Regions from separate parts of the Homo sapiens genome. Here all the other regions are linked to region 1. Evidence: promoter capture Hi-C in human tissues and cell types (Jung and others, 2019). All regions are on one chromosome and are shown on one strand. The core of a region is centred on a gene start or on the middle of the fragment in contact, and the rest is flanking DNA. Distances in the headings are between cores, read along the strand shown.

The links. Contacts are between HindIII fragments. The study calls those that stand out against the background at their distance.
Region 2: a contact is called between a fragment that was not itself captured here and the fragment with the promoter of MMP9 in region 1, in 1 of the 25 tissues and cell types used here (pancreas).
Region 3: a contact is called between the fragment with the promoter of CDH22 here and the fragment with the promoter of MMP9 in region 1, in 1 of the 25 tissues and cell types used here (neural progenitor cells).

Annotation. Positions count from the first base shown.
Region 1 is chr20:46,007,627-46,010,185 of GRCh38, reverse strand. MMP9 (matrix metallopeptidase 9) reads right to left here and starts at 1,278. Exons shown (of 13, transcript NM_004994.3): 1 at 1,122-1,278; 2 at 88-320. The coding sequence starts at 1,259. The HindIII fragment of the contact is 9,924 bases long and covers 1-2,559 here.
Region 2 is chr20:46,428,226-46,430,784 of GRCh38, reverse strand. The region is part of intron 2 of LOC105372633 (a long non-coding RNA gene); the gene reads right to left. Among named protein-coding and RNA genes, the nearest start is that of ELMO2, 23 kb to the right of the region's middle. The HindIII fragment of the contact is 3,067 bases long and covers 1-2,559 here.
Region 3 is chr20:46,307,218-46,309,776 of GRCh38, reverse strand. It overlaps CDH22 (cadherin 22), which reads left to right and starts at 1,279. Exons shown (of 12, transcript NM_021248.3): 1 at 1,279-1,522. The HindIII fragment of the contact is 29,361 bases long and covers 1-2,559 here.

The DNA of each region.
Region 1 (2,559 bases), core at 29-2,528:
GTCCAAGACAGGACATGTTCACCGCTGGCCCAAGAGCCAGACCTGGCCTCCCCGCCCCACCCCGCTGCCCCCACGGCCCCGGCTCACCAATAGGTGATGTTGTGGTGGTGCCACTTGAGGTCGCCCTCAAAGGTTTGGAATCTGCCCAGGTCTGGGACCCCGCACCGTGGGGTTCGCATGGCCTTCAGCGTGGCGCTATCCAGCTCACCGGTCTCGGGCAGGGACAGTTGCTTCTGGAGAAGCAGCAGCGCAGGCCCCAGAGATTTCGACTCTCCACGCATCTCTGCCACCCGAGTGTAACCATAGCGGTACAGGTATTCCTGTGGATGAAGGGACACACACATGCCAGATCTCTGACCCCTTTCTCTGCCCAGCTGGGGCCAAAGGACTCCCTCCAGACACTCATGGAGGGAGTCTTTTTTCTTTTTCTTTTTCGGAGAGACGGTATCAGCCCACTGCAGCCTGGACCTCCTGGACTCAAGCGATCCTCCCATCTCAGCCTTCTGCATAGCTGGAACTACAGGTGCACATCACTGTGCCTGGCTATTTCTTTAATTTTTTTGTAGAGACAGGATCTTACTATGTTGCCTAGGCTGGGCTCAAACTCCTGAGCTTCAGCGATCCTACCACCTCAGCCTCCCAAAGTGCTGGGATTACAAGTGTGAGCCGTCATGCCCAGCAGGGACTAACATTTAATAAAGCATTAAATGCTTTCCAGACACCAGTGCTTTCTGACCACCCAGGGATCTCCCCTCCTTAGACATCCTCAGCTCCTTCTCACCCCTGGATGCCTCTAGCCCATTTCTACCCCACAGCTGCATAAGGTTTGCCCCTGTTCACTCCCAGCCTATGCTTACCCCAGAACCCTCCAATGCCTCCCCCACCCCAAACCATTTCCCATTTCCCACCTAGGAAAGCCCCATTGCCCATTTCTGGCCATCACTGCTCAAAGCCTCCACAAGACCCCCCACTGCCTAACCCTGGACACCTCTGTTCTTCAGATACGCCCATCACCACCAACACACCCCTAAAGCATCTCCTCTGAGGCCCTGCATCCTCTCTGGGACACTCAACACCCTCACGGACAGCCCTCCCCAACTCTAGACTAGGTGTTTGCCCACCTCTGCCAGCTGCCTGTCGGTGAGATTGGTTCTCAGGTCTCCAGGGAAGAGCACAAGGGTGGACTGGCGCTGTCTGGGGGCAGCAAAGCAGCAGCCCAGCACCAGGAGCACCAGGACCAGGGGCTGCCAGAGGCTCATGGTGAGGGCAGAGGTGTCTGACTGCAGCTGCTGTTGTGGGGGCTTTAAGGAGGCGCTCCTGTGACCCCACCCCTCCTTGACAGGCAAGTGCTGACTCAGGGGTCAGGGTGTGTGTGTGTGTGTGTGTGTGTGTGTGTGTGTGTGTGTGTGTGTGGCAGCACCAGCATGAGAAAGGGCTTACACCACCTCCTCCTCTCTCCACTGCCCGCAGTCTCCACTGCCAAGTCAGGCAAGACCCCAGACCCGCAGGAAACCGCAGGCCCTCAGGGGAGGGGTAGGGTTTTGCAAACTGCAGAGCTTGTGGGAACTGTATGAAAGGGAGGGAGGGGGATGAAGCTGGAGGGATCCCCCATCCCTTGGTCTGAAAGCCTCCAGTGGTCAGCCAAGGGAAAGTGATGGAAGACTCCCTGAGACTTCTTTCTGAAACTAATGATCCCCCTGGCCCATCCTTGGCCTTTTGCAACACCCCCTCCCAGGTCAGATATCCTCCCCAAACCCCTCCCCACACTCCAGGCTCTGTCCTCTTTTTCCCTCCCTGACAGCCTTCTTTGACTCAGCTTCCTCTCCCTGCTTCATCTGGGGGCGGAAGGAATGGGCTCTGCTAGGCAAGGCTGGGGAATTCCACTGGGGCAACCCCCTGTCTTCCGCAGGCTGAATCTTCAGGGCAGTAAAGGGGACAGTAGCAGCCTCTAGAAAACAGCAGACATGGCTTTACTCTCTTCCTTCAGGACCTCGGGCAAATGTCTTACCACTTTGAAGTGTTTCCTCAGCTGTAAAAAAAAAAACGGGGGGTGGGGGGCTCTTTGTCCCTAAATTGATGTGAGGATTAAATGAGATCAAACATATAAAATGTTTAGAACACTGTAGGTTGTAAGTCCGCAACGGATGGTGGTGATTGGTTTTAATTACTAAGGCCAAGACCCAAGATTCAGGGCCAGGTATGGTGGCTCATTCCTGTAATCTTAGCACTTTGGGAGGCCGAGGTGGGAGGATTGCTTGAGCCCAGAAAGAAGGTCAAGGATACAGTGAGCCATGATTATGTCACTGCACTCCAGCCTGGGCAACAGAGCGAGACCCTGCCAAAAGACCATGATTCTAACTTGGAATCACCAAACCAGGTTATTGGGCTCTAAGCTGCAGTGTAACCTGGAGTAAATGCCTTCCCCTTTGTCAGCTTAGGATTCTTCAACTGCAAATTGGGGCAGGATATGGGGGAAAATAATCTATAGGAGCCCTTTCAGTTCTCCAGCCCTGCTCCATGCAGCCAAATCTCCAGCCCCAATTATCACACTTATGCCAA
Region 2 (2,559 bases), core at 22-2,521, 420 kb before region 1:
GAAGGCAGCACAGATGTATTCAACAACCATCCCCGCAGAATTCTCAGAGGAAATTCCACTATATTCTAAATGGCAGAAATGTGTTCACAGACCACAATGCAATAAAACTAGAAATCGCCAAAGAATAGCCAAACAAACAAAAACCTCATTACCAACAAAACCCCTATAGACATGAATATTCAAAACCTACTCTTTTAACTATCTATTGGGTTCAAAAGAAAAATTAAAGTAGAAATTATAAATTATTTCTAATGAATAACAATGAGGGCACAAAAAATAAAAAATCTGTGAACTATGACCGAAGAAGCATTCAAAGGAAGATATACAGGCATATCTCAGAGATAATGCAACTTCAGTATCAGACCACTACAATAAAGCTAATATTGCAATTAAGTGAGTCATATGAATTTTTTGGTTTCCCAGTGCATATAAAAGTTATGTTTCCTCTATACTGTCATCAATTAAGTGGGCAATAGCATTATGTCTATAAATGTACATACCTTAATTTTAAAATACTTTATTGCTAAAAAATATTGATGATCATCTGAGCTTTCAGTGAGTCGTAATCTTTTTGCTGGTGGGAGGGTCTTACCTCAGTGTTGATGGCTACTGACTGATGTGAGTGGTAGTTTGCTGAAGTTCGGGGTGACTGTGGCAATTTCTTAAAATAAAACAACAATGAAGTTGGCTGCATCAATCAACTCTTCCTTTCATGAAAGCTTTCTTTGTAGCATGTGATGCTGTTTGATAGCATTTATCCCACAGTAGAACGTTCAAAATTGGAGTCAATCCTCTCAAACCCTGCAGTTGCTTTATCAACTAAATTTATGTAATATTCTAAATCCTTTGTCGTCATTTTAACGATGTTGATAGACTCTTCCCCAGAAGTAGTTGCCATCTCAATAAATTGCTCTCTTTGAGCATTCATAAAAAGTAACTCCACACTCATTAAAGTCTTCTCATGAGATTGCAGCAGTTCAGGCACACCTTCAGGCTCCACTTCTAATTCTAGTTGTCTTGCTATTTCTATCACATCTGCAGTTACTTCCTCCACCGAAGCCTTGAGTCTCTCAAAGTTATCCATAAAAGTTGGAATCAACTTCTTCTAAATTATTATTAATGTTGATATTTTGACCTCTTCTCCTGAATCACAAGCATTCTTGATGTAATCTAGAATAGTAAGTTCTTTCTAGGAGGTTTTCAATGTATTTTTCCCAGACCTATCAGAGGAATTACTATTTATGGCAGCTATAGCCTTACAAAATGTATTTCTTAAATAATAAGACTTGAAAGTCAAAGTTACTCTTTGATCCATGGGCTACAGAATGGATACTGTGTTAGCAGGGATAGGAACAACATTTGTCTCCTTGTACATCTTCATCAGAGTTTCTGAGTGACCTGGTGTTTTGTCGATGAGCAGTAATATTTTGAAAGGAATCTTTTTTATTCTGAGCACAGTTCTCAACAGTGGGCTTAAAATAATCAGTAAACCTTGCTATAAGCAGATGTGCTGTCATCCAGGCTTTGTTGTTACATTTATGGAGCACAGGCCAAAGAGATGTAACATAATTCTAAAGGGCTCTAAGACTTGAGAAATGGGAAATATGCATTGGCTTCAACTTAAAGTCACCAACTACCTTAGCTACTAACAAGAGAGTCAGCCTATCATTTGAAGCTTTGAAGCCAAGCATTGACTTCTCTCTATCTGCGAAAGTCCTTAATGGCATCATCTCCCAATAGAAGGCTGTTTTGTCTACATTGAAGATCTGTTTTTTAGTGTAGCCACCTTCATCAGTGATCTTAGCTAGATCTTCTGGAGAACTTGCTGCAGCTTCTCCATCAGCACTTGCTGCTTCACTTTGCATTTTTATGCTATAGAGATGGCTTCTTTCCTTAACCCTCATAAACCAACCTCTGATAACTTCAAACTTTTCTTCTGCAGCTTCTTCACCTCTCTGTCTTCATAGAATTGAAGAGAGTTAGGGGCTTGCTCTGGATTCGGTTTCGGTTTATGGGAATGTTGCAGCTGGTTTGATCTTCTATCCAGACCACTCAAACTTTCTCTGTATCAGCAATAAGGCTCTTTTGTTTTCTTATCATTCATGTGTTCTGAATTAGCACTTTTAATTTCCTTCAAGAAGTTTTTCTTTGCATTCACCACTTGGCTGTTTGGTGCAAGATGCCTAGCTTTTGACCTTTCTTGGCTTTCAACATGCCTCCCTCACTAAGCTTAATCATTTCTCTTTTTTTAATTTTAACTTTTAATTTTTGTGGAGACATAGTAGTTATGTATATTTATGGGCTGCATAAGATATTTTGATACTAGCATACAATGTGTAATAATCACATCAGGATAAACCAGGTATCCATCACCTCAAGCATTTTTCCTTTGTGTTACAAACAATCCAATTGTACTCTTTGTTGCTTTTAAATGTACAATTAAATTATTATTGACTGTCATCACCCTGTTATGCTGTCAAATATCAGGTGTTACTCATTCTTTCTATTTTTTTGGACCCATTAACCATCCTCACTCCCCTACCCCTCTCCCAATTACCC
Region 3 (2,559 bases), core at 30-2,529, 300 kb before region 1:
AGGGTGTGGAGATGGAGATGGAAATTGGGGAAGGAGGCGAGGAGGAGAGAAGGATAGGGGCGAGGTAGAGCTGGGGGTCCTGGAGGGCCCTGCCCCCTCTTTGCCATGAACTTCAGCAGCTGCTTGTGGGTGATTAAATGGCTGGTCATTGGCAGCTTGGCGGGACAGAGGTCTGCAGCTGTCCAGTCTCCTGTTATCCTTCACTCACCTATCTGGAAGCCATGGGGAATAGGGGGGCGGGCAACTCCTAAGGGGACCTACAACCCAAGACAAAGGGTGGGTCTATGGGAGTCACTGGTCCTATCCTACCATCAACGACCTCATATTGGGAACTCAGGAGTGGGGTGGGAGGGTCTCCTCCATTAGGCCTCATCCCAGAGAGATGAAGTAGTAAGGAGAGCCAGGCAGCCAGGAGAAAGAAACAGGGCCAGGTGGAAAAAACATCAGGGAGCAGACCAGCCGGATTTTTAAAAGAACGGAAAACCCAACCAGCAAGGAGTTTCTGGGCAGTGGGAAGATTTTATTGGGAGACTTCTCCAGGTCAAGGTGGCACCAAGTTAAGGATGGAGGTGTCTTGTTTTGCCTGCTTACTTTGTTGGTTGCAAGGATGTCCAGCGGGACTCTCCAGAGGAAAAGCCCACAAGTTTCTCTCCCGGGGACACCCGACCTCCCACCTGCCTGGAGACTCAGCCCTGGGCACCTGGTCGGTGTCCACCTCAATGCACAGTGACTGTTTCTGAACTGGCAGATCTGGTCTGTGCAAGGTGCCTTTCTGGGCAGCAAGCCGGGGCGGCCACTGTTCGAGAAGCCTGCTCCTACCCTGGCCTGCGCCCCTGCTCCTCTGAAGGCGGCCTCCCGCAGTAGTCAGGGGGCGGAAATGGGAAGCCCTATTCGCAGTAAAATCAGGTGGGGAAATAGGCTCTGGTCTCAAACTGCGGCCACCTGGGGAGCTGCCAGGCGAGGAGGTAGATGGTCCCCCTCCTGGGGGCGCTCCCTTCGCGCGGATCTGGGGTTGGAGGAGGGAGGGGCACTGTCCCCTGGGGGGTTTCCTGGGACTGGGCCGCCCGAGAGAGGGAAAGGCTGTCCCCTCCTGGTGTAGGAGGGGCGCGATCCGGGGGGCGGGGGCTGGGGTTCCCCGGCTGCGGGGGTCCGGGCCGGCGGCCGCCTGCGGCTTGGCGCTGCGCGGCTCCTGCCCGGCGGGCCCTGCATTCTCCGAGTCTCCACCAGAGGCTGCGGGAGGAAGGAAGGGATCCGTCCCTTGCACACTTCCCCCCAGTCAGACACGCACACTCCCTCGCTCCCGCTCGCTCGCTCACTCCCTCGCTCTCTCGCTCTCTCGCTCTCTCGCTCACACACACGCGCGCACACGCCGCCGCGGCTCCCCCTCTCGCTCCCGCTCTCCCTCCGGCTCCTGCGGGCGGCCGCGGGGCTCCGGACTCGCCCGCTGCCCGCGCCGGGGCTCCCGCCCCACGCAGCGTCCCGAGGCGGCAGGACTAGGGGGAGCCCCGGGCCGCTCCCCGAGGTAAGAGCGCGGGGTGCCGCGGGAGGAGCGGCCGGATCGCCGCCGAGGGGAGGCTGCCCGGCAGGGAGGGAGCCCCCTGGCCGGCGGGAGCGGCCGGGCAGGCGGCGCGGGGGGCGAGCCTCCAGCCGCAGGAGGAGCCGGGGTGCCTGCGCCCGGCCCTGCGCGCCCCCTCCTCTCGGCCGGGAGGGCGGGGAGGGAGTTTCCCACGTCCAAACTTTCCCCGGCGCGGAGCCGAGCCGCCTCTCGGCCCGAAGCCCGCAGCTCCCACCCGTCCCCACAACCTCGTCCGCCGCGCGCCCGGGAGCCTCCGGGACCCCCGCGGGCCGAGGGGTGGCAGCGCCAGGGGCCGAGCCGGCGCGCCAAAAGGGGCTGGGAAGGTGGCGCACAGCCCTGACGCGAGGGCTGGGACCCAGGCGTTCCCGGTCCCCCAACCCTGCTAGCGGGGCTCGGCTCCCCGGCCCCTCCCAGAGGCGGGGTCCGGGGCCGGGAAAATACCGCACGGCGCGAGCGTGTGCGCGCGGTGTGTGTGTGCGAGGTCGTGCCGCGTCCGGGGACACCCGGAGGCTGACTCCAGCCGCGGCGACACGCACGGTTCTGGTCCCCTCTGAGCCGGGGAGGCGGCCCACAGGGACCCCTGCCGGCCCCACCGGCGCGACCCCCCCTGCCCTATGGCCGTCGGGCGGGCTGGCGGTGAGCGAGAGCCAGCGCTGCTCTCTTCCTTAGGACCCGACTCCGGAGACACCGTCCCCGCTGGGGAAGAAGGACGGGGCCCCCGACAGCCTAACGTCCAAAGAGAGCGCCACTTAGGGCTAACCCTCGGGGGCCGCGGCGTTTACTGTGAAGAGTGGACTGCGTGGGCGCGCGGGGTGCCGGGCAGCCCTGGGTGGGCACAGTGTGGACCCGTCTCGCTCGCGCCTCCCCGCTGCCTCTTCTCTGGCAACGTCGGGCCCTGTCCCAGGCGGGGCTGCAGAGGGTAGGGCTGATCCAGGATCCCCCGAGGTCTCCCCGAGGTGCAGGGCACCCCCTTGTGGCGGGCA